Linked DNA regions of Homo sapiens: regions 1, 2 and 4 are each linked to region 3. The links are contacts of gene promoters, found by promoter capture Hi-C in blood cells and fetal thymus (Javierre and others, 2016). All regions are on one chromosome and are shown on one strand. The core of a region is centred on a gene start or on the middle of the fragment in contact, and the rest is flanking DNA. Distances in the headings are between cores, read along the strand shown.

The links. Contacts are between HindIII fragments. The CHiCAGO score rates a contact against its expected background, and 5 or more counts as called.
Region 1: a fragment that was not itself captured here is called in contact with the fragment with the promoter of CENPH in region 3 in 8 of 17 cell types (erythroblasts, activated CD4 T cells, fetal thymus and 5 more); the score reaches 10.1 in erythroblasts.
Region 2: a fragment that was not itself captured here is called in contact with the fragment with the promoter of CENPH in region 3 in 13 of 17 cell types (neutrophils, erythroblasts, total CD4 T cells and 10 more); the score reaches 12.7 in neutrophils.
Region 4: a fragment that was not itself captured here is called in contact with the fragment with the promoter of CENPH in region 3 in 17 of 17 cell types (neutrophils, erythroblasts, total B cells and 14 more); the score reaches 27.5 in neutrophils.

What each region holds. Positions count from the first base shown.
Region 1 is chr5:69,419,340-69,422,078 of GRCh38, forward strand. It overlaps MARVELD2 (MARVEL domain containing 2), which reads left to right. Exons shown (of 7, transcript NM_001038603.3): 2 at 32-1,192. The coding sequence starts at 47. Among named protein-coding and RNA genes, the nearest start is that of MARVELD2, 5.6 kb to the left of the region's middle. The HindIII fragment of the contact is 192 bases long and covers 1,287-1,478 here.
Region 2 is chr5:69,390,910-69,393,646 of GRCh38, forward strand. RAD17 (RAD17 checkpoint clamp loader component) reads left to right here. Exons shown (of 19, transcript NM_133338.3): 13 at 922-1,104; 14 at 2,246-2,331; 15 at 2,445-2,591. Among named protein-coding and RNA genes, the nearest start is that of RAD17, 22 kb to the left of the region's middle. The HindIII fragment of the contact is 2,925 bases long and covers 1-2,737 here.
Region 3 is chr5:69,188,252-69,191,072 of GRCh38, forward strand. CENPH (centromere protein H) reads left to right here and starts at 1,332. Exons shown (of 9, transcript NM_022909.4): 1 at 1,332-1,517. The coding sequence starts at 1,384. It overlaps LOC112267932 (a long non-coding RNA gene), which reads right to left and starts at 1,226. Exons shown (of 2, transcript XR_002956215.2): 1 at 740-1,226. RefSeq lists enhancers at 944-1,183, 1,111-1,405 and a silencer at 1,264-1,383. The HindIII fragment of the contact is 12,435 bases long and covers 1-1,906 here.
Region 4 is chr5:69,347,632-69,350,582 of GRCh38, forward strand. It overlaps the pseudogene NDUFB9P1. Among named protein-coding and RNA genes, the nearest start is that of CCDC125, 16 kb to the left of the region's middle. The HindIII fragment of the contact is 3,012 bases long and covers 1-2,761 here.

The DNA.
Region 1 (2,739 bases), core at 133-2,632, 230 kb after region 3:
TCATAAGTGATAACTTTAAATTTGGCCACAGGTGTGAAAATCACAAATGTCAAATGATGGAAGATCCAGGAATCGGGACAGGCGCTACGATGAGGTCCCAAGCGACCTGCCCTATCAAGATACCACCATAAGAACCCACCCAACTCTTCATGACAGTGAGCGGGCAGTGAGCGCTGATCCCTTGCCACCACCCCCTCTCCCATTACAGCCACCATTCGGCCCAGACTTCTACTCAAGTGACACAGAAGAACCAGCTATAGCGCCAGATCTCAAACCAGTAAGGCGCTTTGTCCCTGACTCCTGGAAGAACTTTTTCAGAGGGAAGAAAAAGGACCCCGAATGGGATAAGCCGGTGTCTGATATCAGGTACATCTCCGATGGAGTGGAGTGTTCACCACCAGCCTCTCCAGCAAGACCAAACCACCGTTCGCCCCTCAACTCCTGCAAAGATCCCTACGGAGGGTCAGAAGGAACCTTTAGTTCCCGGAAAGAGGCTGACGCAGTGTTTCCCCGGGATCCCTATGGATCTCTAGACCGACACACACAAACAGTTCGAACATACAGTGAGAAGGTGGAGGAGTATAACCTGAGATACTCCTACATGAAGTCGTGGGCAGGCCTGCTGAGAATACTGGGTGTGGTGGAGCTGCTTTTGGGGGCCGGTGTCTTTGCTTGTGTCACAGCTTACATTCACAAGGACAGTGAGTGGTACAACTTGTTTGGATATTCACAACCGTATGGCATGGGAGGCGTTGGTGGATTGGGCAGTATGTATGGGGGCTATTACTACACTGGCCCTAAGACCCCTTTTGTACTCGTGGTTGCTGGATTAGCTTGGATCACCACCATTATTATTCTGGTTCTTGGCATGTCCATGTATTACCGGACCATTCTTCTGGACTCTAATTGGTGGCCCCTAACTGAATTTGGAATTAACGTTGCCTTGTTTATTTTGTATATGGCCGCAGCCATAGTCTATGTGAATGATACCAACCGAGGTGGCCTCTGCTACTATCCGTTATTTAATACACCAGTGAATGCAGTGTTCTGCCGGGTAGAAGGAGGACAGATAGCTGCAATGATCTTCCTGTTTGTCACCATGATAGTTTATCTCATTAGTGCTTTGGTTTGCCTAAAGTTATGGAGGCATGAGGCAGCTCGGAGACATAGAGAATATATGGAACAACAGGAGGTAAGTGATTTCATAATCCCTCATTTGTGTGTGTATGTTTGTTTTTTCTGTTATTTGCTCCCTTGTTAAAAAATGTATAGCGCTCAAAACAGAAAGCTTTCATAGAAATCTTTTCTTTCTTCCTTTTTTTTTTTTTCAATGGTCTGAGATTCAAAAGTCCTAGTGCAATATCTGACATGCTTTGACTGGGATAACCCACTCTGGTGTTTGGCTGTTACATAACATTGCAAGTAGACACCAGATGTGTAATATATAGTTTGTTGGCTGCATTATTATGTCTGTCTGAAGCTTAAGGGAAAGATACAGCTACCGAATTTTTGCAAAGAAGAAGAGTGTACTCAGTAAAATAAGTGTCTCATCATTAAGTTTGAGAACAATCTTAATTCTTTAATAAAAGCTCCTAATTTTTCATTTAAATGTTACAATTTACTTTCTCCCAGTGAGTTGAATAAAGCCAAATAAGAATGTGGTAAACCATGTTTGATTTTTTTTAAGTATTGAGAGATTGAATTGTAATGAACATACTCTGAAAACTTGCCCAGTGGTTTTGATAATTTGTCTTTATTTGAGGAAGACGTATGGTCCAAAATGAGAATGGAAGTCCTACATTGTTTTTATATTTCTAGAACTTAATAGGATAATAATGAGAATAAATAATAATGAGAACAATAAGAAGAATAAAATAATAATAACTGAAGGATGAGATAAAAGCCCTACCTAAAATTATTTTGGTTGAACAGTAGCAAATGTTAGAGTATGTTCCACTGGCTACATTATTCTCTGAAGTAAGTTGATATTTTGCCTTCTTCCAAGGATATGTGTATAGTAGACTCTCCTATGCCACTGAAATTTTCAGTATTTACCTTAAAATTTTTTGTAATTTTAAGTTAACTATATTATGAATTTTTGCTTTTCCACTTTTCCTAAGACTTCTTAGATACTATACAATTGCACATGGTATATATTGGGCAAAACTATAAATAAAAATTAAATCCTGTCCTTATAACAGCACACACTGACATATGTATTTTGTTTTTAATCTTTTGCTTGAATCTGATGCATAGCAACAAATAGCGCTTTGGTTTTAAAATTTTTTTAATTTTTTTTTTCTTTAGAGATGAGTATTTGCCATGTTGTCCAGGCTGGTCTCAAACTCCTGGACTCAAGCAATCCACCTGCCTTGGCATCCCAAAGTGCTGGGATTACAGGTGTGAGCCACCATGCCTGGCCCGTTTTTTGGTTTTTTTAATTTTCTTTTCTTTCTTTTTTTTTTTTTTTTTGAGACAGAGTCTCACTCTGTTGCCAGAGTGCAGTGGCACTGTTGCGGGAAGTCAGGGACCCCAAACAGAGGGACCAGCTGAAGCCATGGCAGAAGAACATAAATTGTGAAGATTTCATGGACATTTATTAATTCCCCAAATTAATACTTTTATAATTTCTTATGCCTGTCTTTACTGCAGTCTCTGAACATAAATTGTGAAGATTTCATGGACACTTATCACTTCCCCAATCAATACCCTTGTGATTTCCTATGCCTGTCTTTAATC
Region 2 (2,737 bases), core at 36-2,535, 200 kb after region 3:
GCCACTGTACTCCAGCCTGGGTGATAGAGCCAGACCCTGTGTCAAAAAAAAAAAAAGGCCGGGCATGGTGGCTCATGCCTGTAATCCCAGCACTTGGGGAGGCCAATTTGTGTGGTTGGGAGGTTGTGACCAGCCTGGCCAACATGGTGAAACCTCATCTCTGCTAAAAATACAAAAATTTAGCCGGGCATACACCTGTAATTCTAGCTGCTCGGGAGGCTGAGGCAGGAGAATCGCTTGAACCCAGGAGGCAGAGGTTGTGGTGAGCCGAGATCACACCACTGCACTCCAGCCTGGGCAACAGAGCGAGACTCCATCTCAAAAAAAAAAAAAAAAAATTCTCCCTTCACAGGGTTGTTATGAAGATTAAATTCCTATGTATTACATGCCAAGAACAGTATCTTGCACATAACACGATGAGAAACCAAGGCGATGTGACTGTACAGGTTGAATATCCTTTATTTGCAATTTTTGGGAATAGAAGGATTGCAGATTTTTTTAAGATTTTGGAATATTTGCATTATACGAATTGAAAATCCCTTGTCTGAAAATCTGAAATACAAAGTGCTCCAATGAGCATTTCCTTTGAGCATCATGTTGGCACTGCAAGTTTCATATTTTGGAGTATTTTGGAGTTTGAATTTTTTGGATCAGGAATGTCAGCCTATATTAGAGATTGTGCTATTGTGCATGTGAAAGTTTGAAATCTGCATTATGAAATAACTTTCAGATAATACTTTATTCCATTTTAATGTTAGTAACCCAAAGAGGATTCCAACTCAGTTAATGTCATTTATAATTTTTGTTTATTAGGAAAACAAATTGTAATTAGAATATTTAGTGTAACTATATCTGAAGTGTTCTTAGTTTTAATTTTCATATTTTAATTTAAATATTGTCACTTGGATGTATATTATTCAGGAGAAAACAACTTACGGCCAAGGAAAAAAGGAATGTCTTTAAAATCAGATGCTGTGCTGTCAAAATCAAAACGAAGAAAAAAACCTGATAGGGTTTTTGAAAATCAAGAGGTCCAAGCTATTGGTGGCAAAGATGTTTCTCTGTTTCTCTTCAGAGCTTTGGGGAAAATTCTATATTGTAAAAGTAAGAAATTTTTACACTTTTAAAATCTGTTGGATATCACATAGTCTTAAAATGGAAATAAAATGTCACTTTTAAAAAAATGTCATGTATTTTGGTTCTGCTCTAAGAGTTAGAGCTAGGTCAGATACTGTTTGCCTAGGCCTAAGACATAGTAGGAAATCAGAATATTTTCTGACCGTAAGCAGGATTAAAAGTAAAAACATGCAATTGCAGGCCATATCCATGTGTGTAAATCTTTAAAATTATAGTTTGCTGAAGGTAAGAGAGCAGATCATCTAGACTTGTAGTGGCAAGTGTTGGTAGCCTAAAGCCCTCTTAACACTGGGCTCCAGCCAACAGAGCCTTATACAAATTACCAGGTAGTTTAAGGTTTCTTTCAATCGTCTTGTATTTCTCTAATTTACAAGCGTTCTGTCTCCCCAACCAGAGATGTTTATCGCCTTTTCTGTCTTTTTTGATGACTGCTCCCCCTCAGTTCTTTCACTCCCTATTGCCCATTTTAGTGTCCCAAATAATCCCTCCTTTTGATAGCAAATGCCTGTTTTCAGTCTGATGACCCTAAAGGAAAGAAATTAGGATTTCTAAATGGAAACCTTCATACCATCTGAGGAAAATGGGCATCACTTAGGTGGCAGTGAGGACACTCCTCTGTCACTGGATCCTCTTACTTTGAACCTGAGTGACTATTCCCACCTGATTCTTTTCTTTCTCTCCTTTCTTTTCCTCCCCAACATACGTTTATCGTCTCTTGCATTAGTGAATGGAATTCGTATTCTTTCATGTAGAGAGCAACATCTTCCTACATAGTAAATAAAAGAGTAAAGACCACTGTATTGAGATGAGAAATCAAGGGAAGAAAGCAACCCAAAGCTGAAAAAGGTGAAATGGGAGTGCATTAGGAAATGGAATATTTTAAGTCTAGAGAAGCCATAATCTAAGCATCAGAATTGTTAATTTAGTTCTTGCTAATGTGGAAAAAATAGGTGCTTGCTTCCAGTTGTTTTTTATTTATTTATTATTTTTTAACAGTTTGTTACTATGTTGGTATTGTATGTCTAAAATTTTCAAACTCTTCAAATGAGAGGTGCTATATAATTATAAAGAAGGTATTATCTTTAATAATTCCAGAAATTTTTTATAGGAGCATCTTTAACAGAATTAGACTCACCTCGGTTGCCCTCTCATTTATCAGAATATGAACGGGATACATTACTTGTTGAACCTGAGGTAAGTTCTTTGATGACACTTAGTATAGGTTACAAAGGATATATTATTCGTGTGCATATATATTTGACCATTGCATTTTTACCAAATTTATGTATATATGCTTCTTTTTATAGGAGGTAGTAGAAATGTCACACATGCCTGGAGACTTATTTAATTTATATCTTCACCAAAACTACATAGATTTCTTCATGGAAATTGATGATATTGTGAGAGCCAGTGAATTTCTGAGTTTTGCAGATATCCTCAGTGGTGACTGGAATGTAAGACCATTTGACTTAAAATGTTTATGTTTATAGTATTTCCTTAGAATTAAGAAAAGAAAGTTTACTTTTATCCCTAATTGCCTGACATTATTTTATGTGACTTTTCTTCATAACTATGCTAAAGTTAATGTAACCAACTCAGT
Region 3 (2,821 bases), core at 82-2,581:
TAGTAGAGACGAGGTTTCTCCATGTTGGTCAGGCTGGTCTCCAACTCCTGACCTCGAGATCCTCCCCCCTCGGCTTCCCAAAGTGCTGGGATTATAGGTGTGAGCCACAGCGCCCGGCTTTTTTTTTTTTTTTTGAGACGGAGTTTCACTCTGTCACCCAGGCTGAAGTGCAGTGGCGCGATCTCAGCTCACTGCAACCTCCGCCCCCCCGGGTTCAAACGATTCTCCTGCCTCAGCCTCCTGAGTAGCTGGGATTACAGGCGCCCGCCACCACACGCAGCTAACTTTTGTATTTTTAGTAGAGACGGGGTTTCACCATGTTGGCCAGGCTGGTCTTGAATTCCTGACTTCAGGTGATCCACCCGCCTCAGCCCCCAAAGTGCTGGGAGTACAGGGGTGAGCCACCACGCCCAGCGAATTTAACTTTTGTCAGGAGCCGTATTACATTGACAATGGAGAGGAAGAAAACAGCACAGTATGATCAAGTTTAACTAGTGGGTAATTAGCTGTAAAAGAACTCTCGACTCTTGTTCAAAGAGGTTCAAGCTGCTGTGCTTGTGCGGCAAGGACAGTGTCCAAATGAAAAACTACAAATCAGTCATCTGTCCTTCATTTTCTCCATTCCCCCCACTCACTACACAGCTAAGAAAGCTCAAAGGTACCCTGCAGACACTCAAAACTTGAGGGCACGCAACTCTCAGTTACGAGTGGTGGCAATCATAATGACAGAATGAAGTACCAGTGCAAGAAACTGGAAGCGTGTGGATGTCTCCAGGCTGGAAGTCTGGGTTCGAAATGTCTGCAATGCCTCGCACTTGTGGCCCGTCCCTGATCTTCAGAAGCCACTGGTTTCTCCGCCAAACAAAGGGTATGCACCTCATGGGCTCAGGTCAAAAAAGTCTTCTAAACAACCCTCTAATGTTTATCTTTCACAGCCTGCCGGGCACACCCATCTTCAAAGGCAGAGGACGGAAAAGTGCCAAGATGGATGGACATATGGCTGTCGCCGCACTCCCGTGTCCAAGCGCCAAGGCCGAATGACCACTTAGGTCAGGAGATTTTTCCCCTCCAGGCTGCTGTTCCCGGGAGATGTCCCAACGTCTCTAGTCCAGCCCCTAACTCAGCACTCTACACATCCGACGCTTAACGAAAGCTATTCCAACTTTTTACCAGCCGTCTGCAGTTATTTTCACCAGTAGAGCCCGGATGAAAGAGGAGCCCGTAGTAACCACGGCAACCGAAAAACAAGGCGGAAAGGGTGGGGCCCTGGGCGGAAGGGGCGGGGCCCTCGGGCCTTTTCCCGGCGTCCATTTAGTGGCGGGAAAAGCGACCTTTTCTGAGCGCGTTTGCCTGTTGAGTGGTAGCCTTTCCCCTCAACCAGCAATGGAGGAGCAGCCCCAGATGCAAGACGCCGACGAGCCCGCGGACTCCGGAGGGGAAGGCCGGGCAGGCGGGCCACCGCAGGTCGCCGGCGCCCAGGCGGCGTGCAGCGAGGACCGCATGACCCTGCTCCTCAGGTTGTTCCCTTTGGCCTCCTCAGCCGGGGCCAAGTGGGCGTTGTGGCCCGGAACTCCGCCCTTGCTCAGAAGGGCTAGGGTTCGAATTCACGCTCGGTCACGTCAGGTCTCCGTGATTGCCTCATTCACTTAAACTGTTGAAGCTCTTTCTTCATCAGCGAAAAGGAGAGAAAAATGACCCCCTGGAGAGAGGTTACAAGGGTTAAATGAGATAGTCTAGGAAAGTGTTGAGCACAGTGCCCCGGGCCCTTAGAAGCTGTAATTTCTCCTCCTGTTTCCCCGCCCTCCCCCTACCTCTCTGGTTTACAGACAAATTGAATGCCAGAGCTAAACTGGAAGGAAGGTGCCCCTACCATTTCTTTTAGAACTACGACCCTTTGTAACCCAGAAGCTTTATATGTTATAAATTCTACTAAGCGGACGGTGTTTATACTTTTCCACTAAGCGGTTGCTGGGGAAGATTCGATGAGAAGGGACATTCGTCTTCTAAACTAGTGAGCAGGAGAAGGTCCTGGGCCAAATCTGCCTAACTGCCTATTTTTGTGTGACCACTCAAGCTAAGAATAGTTTTTATGTTTAAGTGTTGCAGGGAAAAGATCATAAAAATATTTCATAACACGTGAACTCTATTAGAAATTCAAGTTTCAGTTTCCATAAACAGTTTTATTGGAGTACAACTTTCCTGCCACAAGGGTGGAATTGAGTAGCTAAAACAGAGACCGTGTGACTCACAAACCCTAAAAAATTTACTATCAGGTCCTTTACAGAAAAAAATTTGCGGTCCTCTGTTCTATATCATAACAGAGGTAGTTTTAAAAAAATCATTATTGGCTGAGCGCGGTGGCTCACGCCTGTAATCCCAACACTTTGGGATGCCGAGGCAGACGGATCACCTTAAGTCAGGAGTTCAAGACCAGCCTGGCCAACCATGGCCAACATGGTGAAACCCCGTCTCTACTAAAAATACAAAAATTAGCTGGGCGTGGTGGCGGGCGCCTGTAATCCCAGCTACTCAGGAGGCTGAGGCAAGAGAATTGATTGAACCCGGGAGGCAGAGGTTGCAGTGAGCAGAAGATTGTGCCATTGCACTCCAGCCTGGGCAATAGAGCAAGACTCTTGACTCAAAAAAAAAAAATTAATTACCATTTTTTTCTTTCTTAAATGTTTTGAAAAATGAAAAGATGTCTATTTCTTTTTTATTGTTTTTTCCTCCTCACCCTTGCTGTCATCTTAAATTACCATTTGCTCATAGTTTTTCTACTTATGTATGATTTTTGGATTTATAGAACAACTGAAAAACTATA
Region 4 (2,951 bases), core at 6-2,505, 160 kb after region 3:
GTGTTTAGAAGTTTATGTCATAGTAATATATTTACTCTTTATTATTCTTGCATCATTGTAATAGTAAAAAGCTGGAAACAGCCTAAATGTCCATTAGTGAGAGGACTGATTAAATCAAACTTGGCATGTCTTTTTTTTTGAGACAAGTTCTCACTCTGTCCGCCCAGGATGGAGTGCAGTGGCTCAATCACAGCTCACTGCAGCCTCGACCTCCTCAGGCTCAGGTGATCCTCCTGCGTCAGCCTCCTGAGTAGCTGGGACTATAGGTGCATGCCACCACTCTGGGCTATTATTTTATTTTTATTTATTTATTCATTTTTTTGGAGACAGTGTCTCACTCTGTTGCCCAGGCTGGAATGCAGTGGCACAATCTGAGCTCACTCCAACCTCCGCTGCCTGAGTTAAAGCGATTCTCCTGCCTCGGCCTCCGGAGTAGCTGGGATTACAGGCATGCACCACCATGCCTGGCTAGTTTTTGTATTTTTGGTAGAGACGAGATTTCACCATGTTGGCCAGGCTGGTCTCGAACTCCTAATCTCAAGTGATCCACCTGCCTTGGCCTCCTAAAGTGCTGGGATTACAGGCATGAGCCACTATGCCCAGCCTCTTTTTTCTTTTTTTTAAATAGAGACGAGGTCTCACTATGTTGCCCAGGCTGGTCTCGAACTTCTGAGCTCAAGTGATCCTCCCACCTAGGCCTCCCAAAGTGCTGAGATTACAGGAGTGAGCCACCATGCCTGACCTATTTTTTTTTTTTTTGCGACAGAGTGTGGCCCAGCCTGGAGTGCAGAGGCACTATCTCGGCTCACTGCAAGCTCTGCCTCCCGGGTTCATGCCATTCTCCTGCCTCAGCCTCCCGAGTAGCTGGGACTACAGGTGCCTGCCATCACGCCTGGCTAATTTTTTGTATTTTTAGTAGAGACGGGGTTTCACCGTGTTAGCCAGGATGGTCTCAATCTCCTGACTTCGTGATCTGCCTGCCTCGACCTCCCAAAGTGCTGGGATTACAGGCGTGAGCCTCCGCGCCCGGCCTGGCCTATTTACTTAATTAATTAATTTATTTATTTATTTTTAGGAACAGTGTTTCACCATGTCGGCCAGGTTGGTCTCAAACTCCTGGGCTTAAGTCATCCGCCCGCCTTGGCCTCCCAAAGTCCTAGGATTACAAGTGTGAGCCACAGTGCCTGGGTACTTGGCATATCATTAATGGCTTTTTTTTTTTTTTTTTTTTTTTGAGATGGGAGTTTCACTCTTATTGCCCAGGATGGAGTGCAATGGTGCAATCTCGGCTCATTGCAACCTCCACCTCCTCGGTTCAAGCGATTCTCCTGCCTCAGCCTCTCAAGTAGCTGAGATTACAGGCACCCACCACCACGCCCGGCTAATTTTTGTATTTTAGTAGAAACAAGGATTCACCATGTTGGTTAGGCTGGTCTCAAACTCCTGACCTCAGGTGATCCACCCACCTCGGCCTCCCAAAGTGTTGGGATTACAGGCATGAGCCACTGGGCCTAGCCTCATTAATGCCATTTTATGCAAACATTAAAAAGATGAGGGATCCAAAGAAGATAAACCAATAGGCACATGAAAAGATGCTCATCATAAATCATTAGAGAAATGTAAATCAAAACCAAAATGTGATATACTACTCACCCACTAGTATAGTTATAATAAAAAAGATGGGAGTTGCCAGGCAAGGTGGCTCACGCCTGCAATCCCAGCACTTTGGGAGGCTGAGGCGGGCAGATTACCTGAGGTTGGGAGTTCGAGGGAGAAACTCTGTCTTTACTAAAAATACAAAATCAGCCGGGTATGGTGGTGCATGCCTGTAATCCCAGCTACTTGGGAGATTGAGGCAAGAGAATCGCTTGAACCTGGGAGGTGGAGGTTGAACCCTTGAACCTGCAGTGAGCTGAGATCACGCCATTGCACTCCAGCCTGGGCAACAAGAGTGAGACTGCCTCAAAAAAAAAAAAAAAAAAAAAAAAAAAAAGGCCAGGCGCGGTGGCTCACGCCTCTAATCCCAGCACTCTGGGAGGCCAAGGTGGGCAGATCACGAGGTCAGGAGATCGAGACCATCCTGCCTGACATGGTGAAACCCCGTCTCTACTAAAAATACAAAAATTAGCCGGGCGTGGTGGCAGGCGCCTGTAGTCCCAGCTACTTGGGAGACTGAGACAGGAGAATGGCGTGAACTCGGGAGGTGGAGCTTGCAGTGAGCCGAGATTGCACCACTGCACTCCAGCCTGGGCGACAGAGCAAGACTCCGTCTCAAAAAAAAAAAAAGATGGGATCAAGCAGTCATGGTGTTCTCGATGCTGGAGGGCCTACTTGACCTATCACCAGAAGGTGTTGCTGCTTTGTAACCAGGCGCTGTACCACCTCAAGCCATGGTGCATCCAGAGATAAATAATGGTATATTTTGCCTGTTTGATGAGAGCCTGGTTTGAAGAGCATAGGAAAAAAAAAAAGGGTATGATGGAGGCTACCCCACTGCTGAGGGAGGCAGAGGAATTCTGGTATCGTCAGCATTCACAGCCATTCTCTTCCCTGACTCTCTGGGGGTACTTCCTATGAGAGATACGAGTGATATGCTACAAGTCTCTGGAGTGGTGCTTAGATGACTGGAATCCTTCTGAGAAGGCAATGTACCCTGATTACTTAGCCAAGAGAGAGCAGTGGAAGAAACTGCTGAGGCAAAGCCAGGAGTGAGAGGTTAAGCAGCTGCAGGAGGAAATCCCAACTGGTGGTCTAGGACTGAAGCTTTGCCCCCTGTGGTGGTATATTGTGACCAGACCCCGGGAGTGGCCCATGTAGAGAGACAGACCTCACCCTGTCATGCCTGCAAGTGAAGTAAGTTACAGAACATACACACACACTTAGCCTAATAAAAATCGCTGAAATGGTAAAAATCAACAAATATAGACCGTAACAAGTGTTAGCAAGAATGT